4 separate regions of the Homo sapiens genome follow, and regions 1, 2 and 3 are each linked to region 4. Evidence: promoter capture Hi-C in 16 types of primary human blood cells and fetal thymus (Javierre and others, 2016). All regions are on one chromosome and are shown on one strand. The core of a region is centred on a gene start or on the middle of the fragment in contact, and the rest is flanking DNA. Distances in the headings are between cores, read along the strand shown. Region 1 overlaps NUP153 (nucleoporin 153). Region 2 overlaps LOC100506207 (a long non-coding RNA gene). Region 3 holds the start of ATXN1 (ataxin 1). Region 4 holds the start of PHF3 (PHD finger protein 3).

What was found. Contacts are between HindIII fragments. The CHiCAGO score rates a contact against its expected background, and 5 or more counts as called.
Region 1: a contact is called between a fragment that was not itself captured here and the fragment with the promoter of PHF3 in region 4, in 1 of 17 cell types (total CD8 T cells). The highest score is 5.0, in total CD8 T cells.
Region 2: a contact is called between a fragment that was not itself captured here and the fragment with the promoter of PHF3 in region 4, in 1 of 17 cell types (total CD4 T cells). The highest score is 5.2, in total CD4 T cells.
Region 3: the fragment with the promoter of ATXN1 here is called in contact with the fragment with the promoter of PHF3 in region 4 in 2 of 17 cell types (naive CD8 T cells and total CD4 T cells); the score reaches 6.1 in naive CD8 T cells.

Annotation. Positions count from the first base shown.
Region 1 is chr6:17,670,224-17,673,366 of GRCh38, reverse strand. The region is part of intron 5 of NUP153 (nucleoporin 153); the gene reads left to right. Among named protein-coding and RNA genes, the nearest start is that of NUP153, 35 kb to the left of the region's middle. The HindIII fragment of the contact is 674 bases long and covers 1,258-1,931 here.
Region 2 is chr6:8,437,537-8,440,552 of GRCh38, reverse strand. It overlaps LOC100506207 (a long non-coding RNA gene), which reads right to left. Exons shown (of 5, transcript NR_038980.1): 2 at 2,522-2,613. Among named protein-coding and RNA genes, the nearest start is that of SLC35B3, 3.5 kb to the right of the region's middle. The HindIII fragment of the contact is 6,003 bases long and covers 1-3,016 here.
Region 3 is chr6:16,759,701-16,762,709 of GRCh38, reverse strand. It overlaps ATXN1 (ataxin 1), which reads left to right and starts at 1,250. Exons shown (of 8, transcript NM_001128164.2): 1 at 1,250-1,412. It overlaps ATXN1-AS1 (ATXN1 antisense RNA 1), which reads right to left and starts at 1,572. Exons shown (of 3, transcript NR_136240.1): 1 at 1,544-1,572; 2 at 431-591; 3 at 1-358. RefSeq lists an enhancer at 1-796 and silencers at 797-1,116, 934-1,149, 1,157-1,316, 1,793-1,922, 1,993-2,472 and 1 more. The HindIII fragment of the contact is 4,299 bases long and covers 1-3,009 here.
Region 4 is chr6:63,634,054-63,637,340 of GRCh38, reverse strand. PHF3 (PHD finger protein 3) reads right to left here and starts at 1,539. Exons shown (of 16, transcript NM_001370348.2): 1 at 1,191-1,539. RefSeq lists silencers at 765-944, 1,385-1,744 and enhancers at 962-1,782, 2,314-2,851. The HindIII fragment of the contact is 3,030 bases long and covers 1-2,559 here.

The DNA of each region.
Region 1 (3,143 bases), core at 345-2,844, about 46 Mb after region 4:
TATTTTTTTTTTCTCTGAGACAGGTCTTGTGCTGTCGCCCAAGCTTGAGTGCAGTGGCGCACCCTCCACCTCCTGGGTTCAAGCAATTCTCTGCGTCAGCCTCCTGAGTAGCTGGGATTACAGGTGCCTGCCACCACACCTGGCTGATTTTTGTATTTTTAGTAGAGACGGAGTTTCTCACCATCTTAGCCAGGCTGGTCTCGAACTCTTGACCTTGTGATTCACCCGCGTTGGCCTCCCAAAGTGCTGGGATTACAGGCGTGAGCCACCGCGCCCAGCCAGAAGTTTTACTTTTGATGACATCTTTTGTGTGTGTGTGTGCGTGTGTGTGTATTCTTAATGGTTTCATGCTTTTGGTGTCGTATCTGAGATATTTTTACTATTATAATCCCATGTCACAAAGATTTTGTCTTATGTTTTCTTCTACAAGTTTTATAGTTTTAGGTTTTAATTTATGCCTATGATTCATTTTGAGTAGATTTTTGTGTGTGGTATGAGGTATTGGTCAAGGTTCATTTTATTTTCTAAATTAAAAAGTTTTTTTAAAAAATGAAAGGTAGGAGTCTTACTACGTTGCTCAGGCTGATCCTGAACTGCTGGGCTCAAGCAATCCTCCTGCCTCAGCCTCCCAAAGTTCTGAGATTACAGGTGTGCCTGGCCAAGGTTTTTTGTTTTTTGTTTTTTGTTTTTTTAACATATGGGTGTGCAATTGTTCTAGTGTTATTTGTTAAAAAGACTGTTCTTTGTTCATTGAATAGCTTTTGCACCGTCTTTGTTCTGTGTTTTTGTTTGAGACAGGGCCTTGCTCTGTCACACAGGTTGGAGTGCAGTGGCACGATCATGGCTCACTGCAACCAGAACCTCCTGGGCTCAAGTGATCCTCCCACTTTAGCCTCCTGAGTAGCTGGGACCACAGGCGTGTGCCACCATTCCCAGCTAAATTTTTTTTTTGGTAGTGACAGGGTCTCACTAAGTTGCCTAGGCTGGTGTTGTACTCCTGGGCTCAAGCGATCCTCCTGTGTTGGCTTCCCAAAGTGTTCGGATTACAAGCATGAACCACCAGGCCTGGCCTGCACCTTTGTTGAAATCCAGTTCACATGGCTTTATTTCTGGACTTTTGACCATCCCTCCCCCGACCCACCCATTGATCTGTGTGTCTTTCCTTTTGCCAACTGCACTGTCTTGATTGCCATAGGCTTCCCGGTAGGTCTTAAAATTAGGTGATGTGAGTAGTCCAATTTTGTTCTTTTTCAAGCTTGTTTTGGCTTTTTTAGGTCCTTTGCTTTTCTATAAAAATCTAAAATTGGCTTGTTTCTACAGTCTGCTAGGATTTTGATTGGAATTGCTTTTTTTATTTTTTAGATGGGATCTTGCTCTGTTGCCCAAGCTGAAGTGCTGTGGCATGATCTTGGTTCACTGCAACCTCCACCTCCCAGGTTCACACAATTTTCCTGCCTCAGCCTCCCAAGTAGCTGGGACTACAGGCACACACCACCATGCCCCACTAATTTTTGTATTTTTAGTAGAGACAGGGTTTTACCATGTTGGCCAGGCTGGTCTCGAACTCCTGACCTCAGGTGATCCGCCCACCTTGGCCTCCCAAAAGTGCTGGTATTATAGGTATGAGCCAGCATGCCCAGCCATGATTGAGATTGCATTTGAGTCTAAAGACCAATTTGGGGAGAATAGGCATCTTAACAAAATTGAGTCTTCCAAACCATGAACATGGTATATCTTCCCATTTAGGTGGTTTATAAATTTTTTTCATCAGTGTTTTGTAGTGTTCAGCATACAGATCTCGAACATATTTTGTTAGACTTATTTGTTAGACTTTTGTTATTTGGTATTAGTCAAGAATATGTAGCCTGAATAACTTTTATCTTTTCAGTGAATTGAGTTCATAATTTAAAATACGTTCCAGCAAAGAAGCTTCAGGCTCAGATAGCTTCCCTGGTGAATCCTACCAAACATTTAAGAAAGAAATAATACCAATTCTACACAAACTCTTATGTATAGTAGGAGAGTAGGGAACACTTCCCAGTACCTTTTATGAGGCCAACATTATTACCCCGAGACCAAAATCAGACAAAGACATTAGAAGACAGCAACAGACTATTATTTCTCATGAATTATAGACACAAACCTCAACAAAAATATTTGTAAATGGAATCCAACAAATTTAAAAAGGAAACTGCATCATGATCAAGTGGGGTTTATCCTGGGAAGGCAAGGTTGACTCAACATATGAAAATTAATGGGATTAGACCAGGTGTGGTGGCTCATGCCTGTAATCCCAGCACTTTGGAAGGCCTTAGATCACCTGAGGTCAGGAGTTCGAGACCAGCCTGGCCAACATGGTGAAACCCTATCTCTACTAAAAATACAAAAATTAGCCGGTTGCAGTTGGACGTGCCTGTAATCCCAGCTACTCGGGAGGCTGAGGCAGGAGAATCATTTGAACCTGGGAGGCGGAGGTTGCAGTGAGCCGAGATTGTGCCACCGCACTCCAGCCTGGGCAACAGACTGAGACTCTGTCTAAAAAAAAATAAAAAATAAAAAATTAATGGGATTTACCATGTAAACAATCTAAAGAGTACTATATGAACATCTCTATAGATACATAAAATATTTTTTAAAAATCCAACATTTAGTCATGATAAAAATTTTTGAACAAACCTAGGTATAGTTGAGATCCTTCTACCTGATAAAGTGCATTTACAAAAAAATCATCTGGCAACATACTTAATGGTATGAGGAAGCAAGCAAGGATGTCTGCTATCACTGCTACTGTTTAACATCATACTGCAGGTGCTAGCCAGTGCAGTAGGCACAGAAATCAATGCATGCAGATTGGAAAGGGTATTATTCCTGTAATATTTTTACTGTACACAGATAACATGCTTATCTACGTAGAAAAATCCAAAGAAAATACAAAAAAAGCCACCACAACTAATAAGCGAGTTTAACAGGGTCACAGGATACAAGGTCAATATACAAAAGTCTGTTGTATTTATATACATATATTGGCAGCAGTGACTATGAAATGCCTATATTTGAAGATTTTTGTCTTGTTTTTAGATGTTGTACTTGCTTTCCTGTTTATTCTCCCATATATAATTAACAGTAATTATGAGACTTATTTC
Region 2 (3,016 bases), core at 113-2,612, about 55 Mb after region 4:
TTGTGTAATTAATTATCTCCACCACACAAGGCTGTGAGCTTTGTGAGGGCAGGGATCCATGTCTGTCTTGTCATCCACATATCCACAATACCCAGTAGCATGCAGAGTAAGTGCTCAATAAGTATTTATTAAATGGATATTTAATGAAAATCAAATTAACTAGTTTTTCTGCTCAGTGCATCTGGAACCATATATCTATCAATGAACTTCCTAGTTTGGAAATGCTATATAACCTATTCCTTATGGAAGAGCTAGAAAAGTGACAACTGATGACTATATATAAATGGATTATTCTAATGATAGTAGGCTATATTAATAAGAATATTAATAGCTAACTTTTACTAAGTGTTTGTCAGGTAATAGGTGTTGTGCTAACCATTTAACCATCTTTAAACATCTTTCACTTACTCATCACTACAATTTACCACATAGGTACTACTGTCATTCCCATTTCACAGATGGGGAGATTGAGACTTAGAGAATTTAAGCAATTTGCACAAAGACACTCAAAGAGCAAGGGGTGGTGCAAGGATTTAAATTTAATCTGACACTAGAACCTGAGACTTAACTATGCAAGATGATTCTTCACAGACACATGACTAAGTAACACCAATTGACACGAACTGACATTGTTGATCACTCCTTCCTCCTTTAAACATTGTCTTCACCTGGCTTTTAGAAGACTGTACATTCCTGGACCCATCCTATGTCAACAGCTGCTTCTTCTAAGTCTCCACTGCTGGTTTCTCTTTCTCGCTCCCCCAAGTCACATGACTTGATTATCTAGGACATCCTAAAATACATAAAAACACCTCCCAAAAATTGCTCCTAGGAAATGGAAGGCATTTATCCATAGGTGCCCATTCCCCATTGGTGGATCATTGCCTGGGGGTGTTAATGCCACCAAACTTCCCAAGGGCCAGGTGTGTGTGTGTGTGTGTGTGTGTGTGTGTGTGTGTGTGTGTGTCAGGAGTGACGGCATCTCAACCCTATCTGAGCACTGTTCCTGAAAAGGATACTTGCTGATGTTCACAAAACAATGTCAGTGTTCTATCAGGCCAATTTCCTCCAGTTGATACAATATATGGTAGGACCAGTGGAATTCCATGGTCGTGTGTCATTGTCACACCTCTTTTACCATAAAGTGTGTCCTTTAGTTGGAGGCAATACATCAGAAAATCATGTGTTTGGGCTGGGTGTGGTGGCTCACGCTTGTAATTGCACCACTTTAGGAGGCTGAGGTGGGCAGATCACTTGAGGTCAGGAGTTCACAACCAGCCTGGCCAACATGGTGAAACCGTGTCTCTACCAAAAATACAAAAAAATTAGCCAGGTGTAGTGGCAGGCACCTGTAATCCCAGCTACTGGGGAGGCTGAGGCAGGAGAATGGCTTGAACCTGGGAGGCAGAGGTTGTGCCACTGCATTCCAGCCTGGGCAACAGAGTGAGACTCTGTGTCAAAGAAGGAAGAAAGGAAGGAAGGAAGGGAGGGAGGGAGGGAGGGAAAGAGAGAAAGAAAGAGGAAGGAAGGAAGGGAGGGAGGGAGGGAGGAGATGGAGGGAAGGAAGGGAAAGAAAGAAAAAAGAAAGGAAGGAAGAAAAAAGAAAAGAAAGAAGGAAAAGAGAGAGAGAAAGGAAAGAGAGAAAGAAAGAAAGAAAAAGGAAGGAAGAGAAAGAAAGAAAAAGAAAAAGGAAGGAAGGAAGAGAAAGAGAAAGAAAGAAAAAGAAAAAGGAAGGAAGGAAGAAAGAAAAAGAAAGAAAAAAAGAAGGAAAGAAAGAAAGAAAGAAAGAAAGAAAGAAAGAAAGAAAGAAAGAAAGAAAAAAGAAAGAAAGAAAGGAAGGAAGGAAGGAAGGAAGGAAGTCAATCAATCATGTGTTTGTAACTCTGTTATATAATGGTACTGGCAGAGGCACCATGAACAAGACCAGTCATATCAAGGGAAGTGTCAGTTCCGTAAGTACAAACCACGGCTCTCTCCAGGAAGGAAGGACTTTTGTGTAATTGCTCTCCTTATGGAATTTACCATCAATCTTTGCTGCTGATGGGCTGGACATCCAAAGAGGCAGTAGTCATATCGGCTTTAGTAAGAAAGAGCCTTAATTGTTGGGCCATGCACATGTCCTCCCCTTAATATCACTAAGAAAGTCCTTGTTGTCATCTGACTGCAAAGTAACCCACTTCCAGAGTTCTGAGGAGCTGCATTCTAGACTTTCTTCTTACATCAAATTTCTTAGCTTGGTTTCCCTCAAAACCTGAGACAACTACTTATGTGGGGACAGGTAATTTGGGATGTGATCCTAGTGAGAAACAATGAGAGAATGGAAGGGAGAATATAGACATAATACAAGAATGTGTTATTGAAGTTGCTGTTGTGAGAAACCAGAACCCAATTTCACTGGGACTTTTTGAAAAACACACAGAATGGCCTACAAAACTATCTTGCTCAAGTGTAAGAAGCAAGAGCATTTATCCATCAGTGACTGTCACCCCTTGGTTGAAGGGCCCCAGATGTGTTGACTTACCAGCACTTCAAAGCTGTGCAGGACAGGAGCTGAGAGAGCTACTGCTGGAATGTGTGAAGTCCGAAGAACCTCAGGGAAGAAAGCAAAGAGGCCTGGTAAATGTGGGAGAGGAGAAGCTGTCAGGGAGAAGAATGTGTAAGATTGCATGAAACTGCCCCCCACAACCAAGTCAGAAATGAGAGGTGATGCTCAGAAGATGTGAATCAAGACACCAAAGGTTTCTGATACTACAGAATTATTAATTTCTTAAAAATTTAAAACCAATTCATAGGACCAGGCGCAGTGGCTCACGCTTATAATCCTAGCACTTTGGGAGGCTGAGGTGGGTGGATCACTTGGGGTCAGGAGTTCGAGACCAGCCTGGTCAATAAGGTGAAACCCCATCTCTACTAAAAATACAAAAATTAGCCGGGCATGGTGACAGGCGCCTATAATCCCAGCTACTCGGGAGGCTGAGACAGGAGAATGGCTTGAACCCAGGAGGCAGAGGTTGCA
Region 3 (3,009 bases), core at 1-2,500, about 47 Mb after region 4:
CCGCACTGAGCGCCCTTAGTCTGGAGGCGCCTCCTAGTCCTCCAGGTGCCACACCTGTTGGCAAGGTGCACCCATCCGAAGAAGATTCCTTCGCGTGGAGGTCACACCTGGCGGCGAGACAGGCGGAGGGGCGGGGTGGTGGGAGTCGGAGACCGCACTGAAACCCTGAGTCCAGATTTAAGTTCCTCGTCGATTCTCGAGAACTGCCATTTGATGCTCCGGTTGCTTTCTCTGTCTCCTACACTGGTTACCTCATTTCCGATTAAATTAATGATCCGAAATTAGCTGCGAGAGGAGTGCGCGGGTCTCCTTTCCAGGCTAGAGCGGAGTAGTTCCATATCAAAGCCGATTTCCGGACCTGCGTGCGAAGAGAGAAAGAGGGCAGGGTCGGGCGGTCGCCAGCGTTCGCCGGCAGGAAAGGTGAGGGTACCTGTGCAGTCGGGGGACCCCTTGAAACTTTCCGGAGTTGCACGCAGAGGCAATCCCCGCGGCCCCCAGGCCTGGGTTCCGGAACGCCGAAGCGACGCCGGTTTGTGGCTTAACGTGCAGCTGATGATCAGAGTGAGCCCTCTCAGATGCTGCTCCGAGCGCCTGGGACCAAGGACACGTCGGGATTAGAATGGGCCGACCTCCCCTCCCCGCTGGGGTGTTGCATCGGCTCCCAGCTGAAGCCTGACAGCCCTTGGGGGAGTCCCCCAGGTTGCCTGAGTAGCGCCCCGTTGTCGTTCAGTCCCCTCCAACTAGGTGCAGGGACCCAGGGAGGCGCGCGAGGACCGACCCGTCACCGCTCAAATTACCTCATCGCCCAGCTCCCCGCCCCCTTCCCAAACCTGGAAGGAACCTTGCCCTCCGGTCCGCGTCTCCCCTCCCCCGCACCCCATCCCGAGCCACTCTTTGGGAAAGGTGCCCGCCTCCCCGGGCGGCGCGCAGCGAAGGGTTAAGGGCGCGGGCCGGCCGCCGCGCGGTGCGCTCGCCGTGCTCTGTGCGGCTCGCCGGGCCGCCCGCCAGAGGGTGCCCCCCACCCCCATGAAGTCGGATCCTTGAGCTGCGGCGGCGGCAGCCAACTGCTCCATATTTGGCTTCTATTACACATTTACATACTGGAGCGAGCGAGCGAGCGAGCGCGAGAGAGCGCGAGGGAGGGAGGGAGGGCGGGCGGGCGGAGGGAGGAGGGAGGGGAGGGGAGCGGGAGGAGGGGGAGGAGGAGGAGGAGGAGGAGGAGGAGAGAGCAGAGTATACCGCAGACATCATTTCTACTACAGTGGCGGAGCCGTACAGGACCTGTTTCACTGCAGGGGGATCCAAAACAAGCCCCGTGGAGCAGCAGCCAGAGCAACAGCAGCCGCAAGACATTGTTTCTCTCCCTCTGCCCCCCCTTCCCCACGCAACCCCAGATCCATTTACACTTTACAGTAAGTGACTATTTTTTTTTCCTCCTCCGATTCTTTCCCCCCTCCCCCATTCCCTTCTCCCCTTATTTAGATTAAAATCCCTCCTCCCCCGATCTCCCGAGAGGGGCAAAAGCAACAACCAGCAAACAAACCCAAAACCCCAATCGGCTGCACGGAAAACAGCTGGAAGAGGAGCGAAGGAAATCGACGCGTCGTGTTCTGTGTGTGTGCGTGTGTGTGTGTGTGTGTGTGTATGTGTGTACATACAACCGTCCCCGGCTCCAGGCTCCCGGGCCGACACCCCCACTCTGGGCGCAGGGGCGGCCGGCGGGGGGGCTGTCAGGGGCTGGGTGGGCGCCCGCCGGGCTAGGGGGCGCGCCCGGGCGGGGGGCGCGGGCGGGGAGAGCGGCGGCGGCGCCCCGCTCCCCCGGCTGCTGGTCCGGTCGCAAGTGCGGAGAGCCATGTCCTCCTCCCTCCGGGTGGCGCAGGGGGGAGGCGGCGGCTGGGGTTGGGGGGTGGTCCCTTTCCCGGCCGCCCTCTTCCCATTCCTCCTCCCCGGAGAGGGCGGTGAGAGAGAGGGGGTCTCACGGAGGGCTGGACTTCTCCGCGGGTGGTCGCCCGGCCTCGGCGCCCTGGGGCGGGGGTCTCCCCTCGGAGGGCCGGCCTCGCCGGGTGTGCGGCTGCGGGCGGGGAAGGGACTGCTCCTGCAGCCGGGACGGGACTTTGCGCGCGGCCGGGTGCCGGGCGGGGGGCGCAGAGGGGTGGCCTCGGGGACCGCGCGGGGGTAGCGGGTGTGCGGGTGCCTGGAGCGCGGCTGGAGTGGCGGTGACGGCCCTGGCCGCCGCCGCCACCGCCGCCCTGTTGGTGCGGCCGCTTCCTGATCATGTGCAGCGGCAGCCGCCGCCCGGAGCCGGGAGCCCGCGAGCGCCCCAGTCCGGGCCGGCGCCCCCGCCAGCACCCGCGGCAGGAGACGAGGAGCCGCGGCAGGCGCTGCCCTGAGCCGGGAGTGAACGGCTGCGCGGCTGCTGGGAGGGTGAATGAAGCCAGGAGGAGGGGAAGGAGGAGGAGGCGGCGGCCGCCGCGGAGGAGGCGCTGCGGGGATTGGGATGCGCCCTGGAGCCCCACTGCTCGTTCACTCTGGGCCGGGCCGGAGACTCTGCCACTCCCGGGGGCGCCGCCGCCTCCTCCTACGTGGTTCCAGTGCTGCGCGCAGGCCGGTCCCGCAGGGGGCAGGGAAGGGGGCCGGACGGGCGGAGCGAGAGGTGAGGCGGTGTCGGAGCGCGGCGTGAGTGTGAGTGAGTGTGTGAGTGACTGTGTGTGTGTATTTGTGCGCGCGCGCGCCGGGCGGGGGGCGAGGGCCGTCGCGACGCGGAGGGGGCCCTTCCTTGGCTACTTGGCTGACTCTGCAGCGCCCCGACCCCTCTTCAGCCCCCCGCCTTCAGGCTGCCTTCTTAAACTCCGTGGCTTGTGCTTTCATTTTGTTTCAGACCACGTAGGGGGCTGACTGAAAGGGATGAAACAATTCAGGTTTTCTAGGGAGATTGAGCAAGAACCTTAGTGGGGGTGGAAGTAGGGTGGTGATCGAGACTCTGCCAGAAAACAAAACAAAACAAAAAAA
Region 4 (3,287 bases), core at 290-2,789:
TAATGGAGGCGTAGTTTTGTTAGGCCTTTAACAATCATTTTGTCAAAGGGAAGACAAGTTCGACCCCAAAATAGTAACTAAATACAACAACGTACTGTTTAAGTACTCCCTACAGAGTTTACTGCATTGGTTTTTAAATTTAGCTTAAAATAAGATAGTAAAGTTAGTATTTAGAGAAGCCTCAATAATCGATTATTCTTTTTAAATTAAATATCGCTACATGTAATGCAGATTAGGACTAGAATATTAAAGCAGTGTTGCCACTTAACATTAATCCATGAACATATTCTACGCGTGACTACTGGAAAGCACTAATAACCACCCCAATCTAGTCTCTAGGAATTGGCATTTAAAAGCCCAAAGATGGAAAAAGGTCACCTAACCCGGCAACACATCCTGAGGGAAAGGAGGGACACAGGACTCCGTGCGCGATATCAACATTCTCTTCCTTTCTACTCTCCGCACCGCCCCCGCCCCCCGTGTCAGGTGATCAGTTATTTAGCACCATTAACACGTACGTATCGACAAGTGGTTCATTAAATTACATGTATTATCGGAAGGCAAGAGTCTAGGCTTCTCATTTCAAACTAAGCAAAAGGAGTCCACAGTTTGAGTCCCGGGCACAAAAGCGCGCGGTAACTGGAGGATAAATGGAAGAGCAACTCTCATCTCCAAAAAGCAGCAGCAGGGAGCAGCCTAGCAGCCAGGGCCAGTCCCAGTTTCCCGAAACCAAGGCCCAAAGCTCCATGCTGGGGCTCCCTGAGAAGGAAGAGGCCCCAACGGCCGGATCCGGGGGCCTGCGAGACGGGCCTTCCAGGCAGCGCCCGCCGTGCCTCGGGCCTGCGCGCCCGCGCCTCAGCGGCGGCGGGGCGCCCTCGCAGCAGACGGCTGGGTACCAGTGGTCGGGAGAGAGGCCGTGGTCCCGACCCTCCGCCTGGCGACCGCGTCGCTGCGACTCCCTCCCCAGCCCGCGGTCCAAATGGTCCACAGGCGCCAGCGGCGCGGCCCAGGTAGGCCGAGGACGTTGCGCAAGAGGCCCGAGAGGCGATCTCTCGGCTGCGCGGGAGAAAAGCGCGGAGAGTCCGCCGCGGGAGGGGCGGAGAGGCCCGCGGAGGCGCTGTGCGTGTGGAAGGGGATGGGGGAGGGGAGGATTGCCCGTCTCCCTGGCCGCGGCCACAGCCGCAACTCACCCAGCTCCGCCAGACGAGCGCTACCACTGGCAGCAAGAGGAAGATGGTGGACGCTGCCGCCGCCGAAGAGGAGGAGGAGGGGGCCCGGTGGGTGCCGCGGAGAGGGGGTACGCGCAGGACGTCGGCGTCGCTGCCACAGCCTCTTTTCCTCCTGGGACCAAATGGCTGCTGCTGACGACACTATTCTTGGCTTCCGCGCCGCCCTCCTAATCCTCGTTGCAGCCGCCGCCGCCCTGAGCCCGAAGGTCGCTTGCCGCGTGGGGACGGTGCGACGGCGCGAGACCCCGCAGCCATCGGCGTGCGGCGGCGGCGCGGGAGCTGGAGAGGGGCCGTGTCACGTGACCCCACTGTTTACCGTTCCGGGGGCCGCGGCCTGCGTCGCTGCCGCGCCTGCGCGCTTTAGGGCCTCGAGCGCCGCGCCTCCGTGGGGCCCCGGGCTGCAGCGCTTCCCGGCGTTGCCGCGCCCCTCCCTGTCTTCGGAGGACGCGGCACCGCCTGCGGGCTTCTAGCTCACACCTCCGCGCCGCCGGGAGGGGCGAATCAGAGGAGCGCTTTTTCTCGACCGTAGTAAGCACTAAGGCTTCACAGTTAATATAATATTGATGCGCAGCTCCCCAACCCCAGGTACTTTTTATTAATTGACTGTGAGTTCAAGAATGGTAGAATAGGATGGAGTAGATGAGCCCTCTGCCCAAATATCTGTGCTGGCTCGGCACAGCAGCCTTACCATTAACTACCTCCGTTACCCTCACCCTACATGGCTGATCTACCTCAGGACTCAAATTGCTACCTCCAAGAAACATTCTTGGTATCCAGTAAGCAGTCTTCAGAATGTGGTCCCAGGTTTCCCTGAGGGGTCGCCAAGACCTTTCAGTAGAGCCTCCATTCCTTTGCCAGGAGCATGTGTCTAAGGCCAAATTTTCTTCCCACCCTTCAACCAAAACAGCATATAGCAGCTGATTCAATGCAGAAACAGATAAGAGAATCCAGCCATCTTCTATTAAGCCAGACATTGAGGAAATCTGCAGAAATTTTAGATATCACCCTTTTATTAATTTGGAAAATATGCTTTTCATAAATACATTATTTGTGGTAACAAATATTGTGTAGAGGTCCAGAGACAAAAAAAGTTTGAGACCCACTGGTCTGCTTCCACAGACACTTGAGCTAACCCCTATCTCAGCCCTTAATAAGCGCTGTGAAGTAATTGTTGCTTGTCAGTCACTCCAACCAAAAGGAGCTACTTAGGGACAGGGTTTGTGGCTTTTATCTACAGGGACTATTACAGTATTCAGCCAGTACCTGCTGAGCACCTTACTGTGTGGTCTGCACTGTTCTAAAACCTTTACAGTACTTGTTGATTTAAGCTTTAGACCAACCGCAGCCCACATTGTAAGATTAGTGCAGGGTGGAAGAATAAGTCACAGGCATGTGGTGAAGATCTGTTCTTTCCTCTCTCTAGTCTTCTGATATTTTAAGCACTCTTAATAGCAAATGCTCTTCTACAAAGGAAGTTTGGGTTGTCCTGATTCCACTGGATTCTTAAGAGTTTCACCCCCTGTCTTGACTAATCAATCCCTCAAGACTTTGTTTTACAATCTTTTTGTAATGTGTTTTTGAGAAAGGAAAATAGAAATGAGTAATTTTTTTTTTTAATTCTCACTTGGGATGTCTGGGATGAATTATAAAAACAAGCCTAATGTTATTCTTACTCTTCTGGTGGATCTCAGTGTGACGTTTTAAAAGGGCGTTCAGAAAAAGTAAAATTATTGTTATAAACAAAATCCAACCCCGAAGGAATTCAACAGAGTAGAACTTGATGACGGAGACCACTAGCTGGAAAATCCCTTAGAAGGGCTGAGGAAAACTTACCTTCTCAGAGAAGTTTTAATAAATTTAAGATAAAACAAAATGGAGATTAAAAGAAAATGTAAGAATCATAAGACTGTCACATTTACAAAGCAAAGATTTCTGATCCTTAAAAAGTCAACAAGCTTGCCATAGGCATGATGTTTTGATTCTGTTATTTTGAACCAGCCAAGTGCCCAGATTCACATTTGTCCACTAATGGTCTTTGCTTTTTGCTTCCAGATGTAA